Regions from separate parts of the Homo sapiens genome. Here all the other regions are linked to region 3. Evidence: promoter capture Hi-C in 16 types of primary human blood cells and fetal thymus (Javierre and others, 2016). All regions are on one chromosome and are shown on one strand. The core of a region is centred on a gene start or on the middle of the fragment in contact, and the rest is flanking DNA. Distances in the headings are between cores, read along the strand shown. Region 1 overlaps SYN3 (synapsin III). Region 2 overlaps SYN3 (synapsin III). Region 3 holds the start of RFPL3S (RFPL3 antisense).

Region 1 (3,079 bases), core at 87-2,586, 610 kb after region 3:
CCTGTCTGCTTCCAAAGTCTCTCTACCTACTCTTAGCTGATGCTGGTGGAGTTAATCTCTTCCCAAAACTGACTGACAGCTCTGATATTAGCACCACTTTTTCTTACGTCCTGATGGGCTTAGATGTCAACTAGGCGGTAGTTTAGTAGGAAAGGAACTATTAGTATGACTCGAAAGCAAGATTTTGATTTTTTTTTTCTTTCAGCAATGGTCTTCAAATAAATACCCATGTGGACAGCCTCATGCAAAGAGAATCTTTTCATACAGTTTGTGAATTTTATCGTAATCCTTAAAGGTAGTATCAGCAAATTCCAGACACCAGGACAAGCCCATGTCTAGTATTTGAAGTGCCTGGGGCAAAGCGACAAATGGAAACCTATGGGTCATATGTCTAATATTTAAAATTGACAAAATCAAGCCAGCAAACATTTAAATAAAAGACATCTGTCCACTGGGCATGGTGGCTCATGCCTGTAATCCCAGCACTTTGGGAGGCTGAGGCAGGCGGATCACGAGGTCAGGAGTTGGAGTCCAGACTGGCCAACATAGTGAAACCCCATCTCTACTAAAAATACAAACAATTAGCCAGGAGTGGTGGTGGGCGCCTGTAATTCCAGCTGAGGCAGGAGAGGCTGAGGCAGGAGAATCGCTTGAACCTGGGAGGCAGAAGTTGCAGTGAGCCAAGATTGCGCCATTGTACTCCAACCTGGGCGACAAGAATGAAACTCCATCCAAAAAAAAAAAAAAAAAAGAAAAAGAAAAAGAAAAGAAAAAAGAAAAAAAGAGTCCCAAAGAGTCTGTCTTCCTTCCTTGGCAGATACAATTTCATAATGACCTTAAAGACTCAGAATGTAAACTTCTCAGAATTCTTTGCACTCTACCCAGCACGTGGCAGCACAAGGATTGCCAGCTCTTGGTTCTCAGACCTCACCCAAGATCTTCCTTAATTCCCCACCCACTCTCCTCTGCACCACTGAGGCTCCTGGTGCGGGTATGTGGATTGCCCAGACCACGTGGCCAAGCTTCATCTACTCCCTTCCCCTCCCCAAATGGTTGTCCTTTGGCCACCCCTTGGAAAATGGACCAAGGAATTGGCCTATATAGGCTCTGAAGTTGGGTTAAGGTCCCTTTGAGGAGGGAATTCTAGAGTTTGGGTACCCAGGGCATGGCCTAAGAGTGCAATTTGTAGGGTCTTGGTGGGAATATCCCCTCACTCCTAACTCCTCTGCCTGTCAAGAGAGGTGTGGCTAATAAGGACCAGAGCAGGATCCAAGGTAGGCATCTTTCGTGGATTTAAAAATCACTTGCTTTTAAATCCAAGCTCCAAATTTAAAAGAAGTACTGGGTGGGCCTGGGACCGGGAATGGTAACCTATCATTACAATCACCAGCATACTGGGAAAAAAAACATGGATTTGCAATCACACAGGCTTGGGCAAAATCTTAGCTCTACTACTCACTGACCATGTGTTCTAAGACAAGACACTTAGCCCTCTGGGTCTCAGTTTCCTCATTTGTCAAGTGGTGACAGTAACTACCAGGGAAGGGTGTGGTGAGAAAGTCACATAATCCTCTATGCAACAAGGCAGTAAAGTGCAATGGCTTCAGGGCATACAGCCTGGATAGGACCCCAACTCCTCCACTCACTTGTGCAAGCTTGGGTAAGCCAACCTCTGAATGCCTTAGTTTCCACACCTAGGAAATGAGGCTCATAGTAGTAGCCACCTCACAGGGTTGTTATGAGGATTAAATGAAACAAGGCATACAAAGCACTGAGAATAGTTCCTGGCACACAGTAAGCTGCAAAGTATGTAGTCCATGGCCTGAAACAGAATCCACAAGAGCAAAGAGCTATCGAGTGCTTACCCTGTGCCTAGTGGGTGCTGTGTGCTGGGGACCCACAAATAAACAAAACAATCTTACCCTCTTGGGGGTTCCAAAGCAGAATTATGACTCACCTTGCTTTGATCTGTCTCACAGGTGCAAGGAGTGATGGCTGGTGATGGGGAAAAGAGGTGGCCTTGGCCTATAAGGACAGCCAGACCCTTCACATCCTTCCTCCTATTTGACCCTCATGCCAACCCTGAGGGGTGGTAGGGCAGGGATTGCTCCCAACGTGTTCCAGATGGAGAAGTCTCTGCTCAAAGTCACACGAGTGATCTGGGTACCCAAACTCTAGAGGGAAGAATTTGGGTACCTTTCCTGGAGACCCTAAGTGGTCTTTCAGACTTTTTGGATCCAGTCCAGAGCCCTGGCGTCCTTCATGATCTGGACCCTGCTGACTGGGGGTCTGCTTCCCCTCCAGTTTGCTGTCTATTTCATGGTTGCATCCAAATTCCTGTGCTTCTCTAAATACTCCTGTGCTGTCCTGCCTCTGAACCTCTGCACAGGCCTTCACCTCTGCTTGGCACTTCCTTGATTGTCTCTTTCTCATGTTTCAAGATCCTATGAGTGATATCTACTCTGCTGAGTTTTCCTTGACAGCACCCCCTTCCCTAGCTGGGCTGAGCGTCCTCCCTTGGTTCCTACAGCACGCTGCACTTACAACCATTCCAGCCCTTACCACTTCACGTTGTCATTACACATCACTTAGCTGCCCTCTGCCCCCAAACATATAGTCTGTGAGCTCCTGGAAACCAGAAACTGAGTCTCCATGCTCACTGTGTCTCCAGTATCCAGCACAATGAGCTAGGGCACAGGACAACAGGCTTAACAAATGTTCGCTGACCGGGTAAGGAAATACTGTCTGTAGGCCGGCCTTTCCTGGAGACACTTGACTGCCATCTACTGGCACACCATTGTAATACAGTCACAGGTCTACAGCCACTGCGATGTGGGGGTGTGTACGAGGCCAACCTTCGCAACTGGCATTCCTCGACTTGATTCTAACCTGGAACCTGAAGCACTTTGCACTACACCAATACCACCCAAGCAGCTGTGGTCTTGATGAGACCTCACCTTCCCAGGAGAAACATTTGTTTTGCCCATCTCTGGAATGTTTACTGCAGGGCCTGGCAGACGGACTGGGGCTGAAGCTGAGGGTCAGGGAGTCCATCCCCCCGCCTGGCTGCAAGTCAGAA
Region 2 (3,171 bases), core at 394-2,893, 650 kb after region 3:
AAGCAGAGAGGGGTCAGATCATGAAGGGCCATGTTGAAATCAATTTTGATTTGAAGCCAATTGTGAAAGTAAGCCATTGGAGGGTTAGAGACAAGAGGGATATCTGGTCTACCTGGCCACTGTGTAGAAATAGACCTAGAGGATGTGTCTATGAAAGGAGCCAGACAGGTTAGAAGGCCGTTGTAGTCATTTTGGTCCACAGATGTGAAAGTGGGGAGCTGGATTATGTAATTTTCAAGGTCTTTTCCTCTTGAATCATTAGGACAGGACACAGGATATCGCTCCAATGCCAAACTTAATCTGATGGCAAGACAAGGTGCGGATGAGAGGGATTCTGGTGAAAGCCTAGGAAAAGACAGGAAGGCAGGGAAGACGGGCTGGGATAGAACCCAGTAGGCCCCGTGGGTACCCAGCCCCATGCTGCCCTAGCACTAACCACTAGAGGGCAGGAGTGACCAGACCAGACAGAAAAAGAGACTTTATAAGGCAAGTTTGCAAGCTTACTTCTTGGAGGCTGTGGCATGAAGAAAAACTTCACTGGGAAAGGTTAAATAAAGGATGAAAGACTTTCCATACTTGATGGTGAAGCCAGAACCAGAAGTAAGGTGAAAATCATAAGGATACGTTTTGCATCAAAGCAGGAGGAATGAGAGCTGCCCCACAGCGGCAACAGCTACTTTGAGAAGAGATGAGCCACTGATCAGCCTGGACAGGAGAGTGGACATGTCTGCTTGGGTGACTCATTGACACCCCAAACTTCTTTCCTTGCTCACCCTCAGATGAGTTTATGCACCTGGGTTCCCCACTTCCGGAACCCTGTGACCCATCCACTCACTGAGACCTGAACCTAAGTCTCACACTTTGCTCCTCCTTAACCCTGGTGAGTTTCAGCCACTCAATCTCCAAGTCCTGTCAACTCTGTCTCCACTAACATCTTCAGCATCATCCCCTCCTCTCCATCATTCCTACCATAGACTTGGTTCACGTGCTGCTAAAGCTCTCTCCCCTTGCCTATTACAACAGGCTCCTAATCAGCTCCCTCCCTCTAAGCTCAGTCATTCAGTCAACTTTCCACAGAGCAGAGAGAGCTTTCCAAACTACAACCCTAACCAGAGGAAGCCCCCTCGTGACTTTCCACATATCCCTAGGATAAAGGACACACTGTAACCCAGAAATACCTTAATCATTGCCATCTTCTTCAAGGTTTTCCTTGCTACTTTGGCCATGCAGGATGAAACTCTTCTAATGAGTCATGCTCTTCCAAAAGTCCATATCCTTTGTATATACTTTTCCCTCTGCCCGGAATACTGCATCTTATTCCCCTTTTCCTTCACTGCCTGGATACCTAGAGAGGCCATGAAACCTGTAACTGGGAGCACAGGTTTCAAAGGCAGACAGACTCTGGTTCCAATCCCAGCTCTGCCACTTACTCATGTAATATCTATGAGAGTTGGGGTGGCTTATTCAACCTCCGTGCCTCAGTTTCCTCATCTGTAAAACAGGAATAAAAAATAACGGCTACTTTACAAATTGATATGAACACTGAATGAGATAACTGATGTGACACAGTGCAAGGCCTGACATGTCAGGCACTACATGTACTAGCTCCTGCTGTTATTTATTTATTACAGTTGATTTTCTTGTTGTTGTTTGTTTTTGGTTTTGCTTTTGTTTTTGAGACTGGGTCTAGGCTGGAGTGCAGTGGCGCGATCTTGGCTCACTGCATCCTCCCGCCTCAGCCCCACAAGTAGCTGGGACTACAGGCACGTGCCACCACCCCCAGCTAATGTTTGTATTTTTTGTAGAGGAGGGGTTTCACCATGTTTCTCAGGCTGGTCTTCAACTCCTGAGTTCAAGTGCTTGGATTGTAGGCATGAGCCACCACGCCCAGCCCCATTGCTTATTCTTAGCAATCCACATGAAGCTACTGGGAAGATCAAATGAAAGAATGCACAGACGTGCTTTTGAAATAATGAATGATTATACAAATAATAGTAATGAAACATCGTTTTTAGTAGTGGTATCTTTACAATATCATCAGGATGCAGAATTGTTATTCCTGACTTCAACCATCCCTGAGAGTCATTAATGCTTAGAGACTCTGAACACAGAGGCCCCACAGTCACATAGAGGCCCCAAAGCATTTAACCAAACACCTTCAGATTTAATTCCTCCAGAGGAGAAGTATTCAGTTGAATAGTTAACCATGGAAACGTGTTTGTTCACATAGACCCAATCCTAGGAAAATGGAGAAAGTGGTGAGGTTTATTTCTGGATCCTGTACCTCTTTCAAAACCCATCTTCCTCACTTCTTCTTCTTCTCAATACCTCACCCCTAAGATCAGATCTCTTGGCAGGACCTTGTCATTGGAGCCTCTAATTCAGAGAAGCCTCAGGACATAGGAGATGGGGTATTTAAGAATAAGAGAGGGTGTCTGAAGAGGAGGACAGGCCAGATGCCCAGCCCAGAGTACCAGCACCTCAATACAATCACGCTATTAAAATGATTCTTCCAATGGTATAAGGTATAAGGCCTGAAAGCAATCTTTTTGCTCAGTCTTTAAGATTCACTGAGGTGACTCTATTGATGATACTTTGGGCACCATGACAAGCAAAAGGGGAGAAATTTCTTTTGCAAGATTGGGTCATACAAAAGGCCAACCTATACCACTTTGAAAACAAATCCTATATAAAAGGGACTCTTCAAGTGCAAGCCCCCTCCCAAACCCAGGCTAAGGACTACAATGGCCTCAGCACTCTGGTGCTGGACACAGGTAGACAGAGGCAGTAAGCTTGAAGGTTAAGTTCATGGATCCTGGGACCAGGTTGCTTGGGTTCCAATCCCAATTTTGCTATCTACCACCTACAAAGCCTCGAGAAAATTACTTAGCCTCTCTGTGCCTCAGTTTTCTTATCTGCAAAATGGGTATAATAGTACCTACCTCATAGAGTTCCTGCAACTTAACATATGCCAAGTATCTAAAACAGTGCTTGGCACATGGTAAACAATCTGTGTCAGCTGCTATTATTATTCCGATTTTTTTTTAGACAATGTGTTTCCCATTGCCAGAAAGTCTGACAGTGTGGTTAGTTTGGAAGGCAACACGGCAGGTGCAGTATTTACATGAGAATGAGCTTTGGCATGGATCTGACTTTGAGCCCCACCTCTGC
Region 3 (2,902 bases), core at 22-2,521:
TAAACCCCAATCATAAAAATAAGTGTGTTTTGTTTCACACACTGACACATAGACAATACACATTCTTACTTCTTTTCAAAAAGTTAATATGTGAATATAAATGACATATTCCAAATTTACTAAACTGAATACACATTTCATGAAAAAGGAGAGAGGAAAGACATACTAAAAACAGGCCAGGGCCTGGTGTGGTGGCTCACGCCTGTAACACCACCACTTTGGGAGGCCGAGGCAGGTGGATCACCTGAGGTCAGGAGTTCAAGACCAGCCTGGCCAACATGGTAAAACCTTGTCTCTACAAAAATACAAAAATTAGCCGGGCATGATGGTGGGTGCCTGAAATCCCAGCTATTCGGGAGGCTGAGGCGAGAGAATCATTTGAACCCGGGAGGCGGAGGTTGTAGTGAGCCGAGATCGCACCGTTGCACTCCAGCCTGGGCGACAGAGTGAGACTCCATCTCAAAAACAAACAAACAAACAAAAAAACAACAACAAAAGACAAAGATGGACACACTTCGTTGTGTTAAAAGCCTCAAAGACATCTGCATCATTCTAGCTTTGCTCCTAATTTTTAAAATTAATGATTTTAATAGGTTCTTAATTAGGTAAAAACTGCATTAAAACATACTTTGCCATATTTTTCCCAGAAGGATACCTAATTGGGTGGTTTGAGGGGTGCCAGATGTAACAGGAAATAAGACATGTCTTTTAAATAAAGGAAAAGCTCAAAGGCATCCTGCTTGATACTAGAATCAAATATATAAATTGAGGAATAAAACATAACCGGGAAACACATTTATAACTGCATATGAAAAATACAGAGGAGAATTTTTTAATAAAATATATTTTTAAATATTAACTAGTACATTTGAGAGGACAGCATTCAACAGGCCAATGTGAACATACCTTTAATGCAGGAACTCAGGTTCCCCATAAGAAAGACCAGAATCTGTGAAAATGACAGCAAGCATGTTCAACCTGCTATGAACTTTGAAAAACTCAGCACAGACAGTGGCAGTTAGGACCGAGGGCAAGATATACCCAATCACATAACCATGGTGATAGGAGCATCATCAACGTCTCAGGGTAAAGTCACAATGTGTATTGTGAGGTCCGCTTTCTGCTGCACCAACAAGAGTGCTTTCACACGCACAGGAGGGTCATTAAAGATTAGGCCTTTTACGGCAGGGAGTGGTGGCTCACACCTGTAATCCCAGCACTTTGGGAGGCCGAGGTGGGTGGATCACGAGGTCAGGAGATAGAGACCATCCTGGCTAACATGGTGAAACCCCGTCTGTACTAAAAACACAAAAAATTAGCCGGGCGTGGTGGCGGGAGCCCCCAGCTACTCGGGAGGCTGACGCAGGAGAATGGCGTGAACCCGGGAGGCGGAGCTTGCAGTGAGCCGACATAGCGCCACTGCACTCCAGCCTGGGCGACAGAGCGAGACTCCGTAAAAAAATAAAATAAAATAAAATAAAATAAAAGATTAGGCGTTTTACTTAAAAAAAAAACAACAAAACCCAAGCTCATTAATTACTATTCTGTGCTTATTAAAATAAGTTTTAGGAGGAGAAATTGTGTACCCCAAAATACACTCAATGGCAAGAATTTCAAACTGAGCAGGGGCAAAACCGATATGTTAGTAACAACCAGAAGTTCCATTCTCGATTCGAAATTCCATTGCCAAATATTTCTACCATTCCTGAGTCATCTAATATTTCTAGAACCAATAAGCAAACTGTTCAGAATTAAAGACAGCATAAATGGATATTGTTATAAAAGTCATGTTTCTTAAAAAGTGACATTTTTTAAAGTCACATTTTAAAAGTCATATTTCCCTAAAAAGTCATATTTCTACCATTCCTGAGTGATCTAATGTTTCTAGAAGCAATAAACTGTTCAGAATTAGAAAAAAGTGTTACTTGATATTATAAAAATCATATTTCTCTCACAATATAATTATGAAACTTATTTTTCCACTTATCTCTATATATTACTATGCACTTATTTATCTCCCAAACTTTGTGAATTCACAGAGGAATTTGTCTACCATTGTGTATGTAAACGGCTGGCCATTCACTGAGTATTTAAAGGAAAAAAAAATCACTATATTTTCACCAGTGCATCTTCTCGGTGGGGTGAACACTTTGGGTGAATACATATAATTTTTTATTTGAGACAGGGTCTCACTCTGTCACTCAGGCTGGAGTGCAGTGGCTTGATCATGGCTCACTGCAGCCTTGACCTCCCAGGCTCAGGTGATCCTCCCAACTCAGCCTCCCATGTAGCTGGGACTACAGGTTCTTGCCGCCATGCTCAGCTAATATTTTGTAGAGATGGGGTTTTTCCATGGTGCCCAGGCTGGTCTTCAACTCTTGGATTCAAGCAATCCACCCACCTCGACCTCCCAAAGTATTGGGATTAGAGGCGTGAACCACCATGCCCAGCCTAATACATATAATTAAAGTGTTTCTGAATGCAGAATTTTAGATAACTTTCAAAATGTATAACTACGTGTGTATTCTGGCTGATACATAACACCCAATTGCAAATACTTTTATGATATGCCCAAGAAAACAAGCTGTTGAAAGTGACCTGCCCTAAAATAAATAGAACAAATGAAAATTTTAGGGTTAAGATGAGAGAGTTGCTATGTTTCAAAGAGAATAGGTACCCTTCATGATATAAATATTACAGTACAAATGTCTATCATTGCTAAGTACAAATTTCTAGAACAAATAAATAGGTCACAAATGATGTATACAATCTGCATTAATATAGATGATGCTATATTTTGTCCAGTGATTATAAAACAGAGGGTGTAATGGGGTAGGTGCTGAAAGAATAGGTCATTCTGTGTTGTTATAAACAGAAAATTTCAATGGCTTCCAGATTGAAC

The links. Contacts are between HindIII fragments. The CHiCAGO score rates a contact against its expected background, and 5 or more counts as called.
Region 1: a contact is called between a fragment that was not itself captured here and the fragment with the promoter of RFPL3S in region 3, in 1 of 17 cell types (M1 macrophages). The highest score is 6.3, in M1 macrophages.
Region 2: a contact is called between a fragment that was not itself captured here and the fragment with the promoter of RFPL3S in region 3, in 1 of 17 cell types (erythroblasts). The highest score is 6.2, in erythroblasts.

The regions. Positions count from the first base shown.
Region 1 is chr22:32,983,429-32,986,507 of GRCh38, forward strand. All of the region lies in intron 2 of SYN3 (synapsin III), which reads right to left. Among named protein-coding and RNA genes, the nearest start is that of SYN3, 73 kb to the right of the region's middle. RefSeq lists a silencer at 2,656-2,950. The HindIII fragment of the contact is 633 bases long and covers 1,021-1,653 here.
Region 2 is chr22:33,018,000-33,021,170 of GRCh38, forward strand. All of the region lies in intron 1 of SYN3 (synapsin III), which reads right to left. Among named protein-coding and RNA genes, the nearest start is that of SYN3, 39 kb to the right of the region's middle. The HindIII fragment of the contact is 2,293 bases long and covers 498-2,790 here.
Region 3 is chr22:32,369,993-32,372,894 of GRCh38, forward strand. It overlaps RFPL3S (RFPL3 antisense), which reads right to left and starts at 1,272. Exons shown (of 5, transcript NR_104232.1): 1 at 1,206-1,272; 2 at 907-949. The HindIII fragment of the contact is 20,480 bases long and covers 1-2,902 here.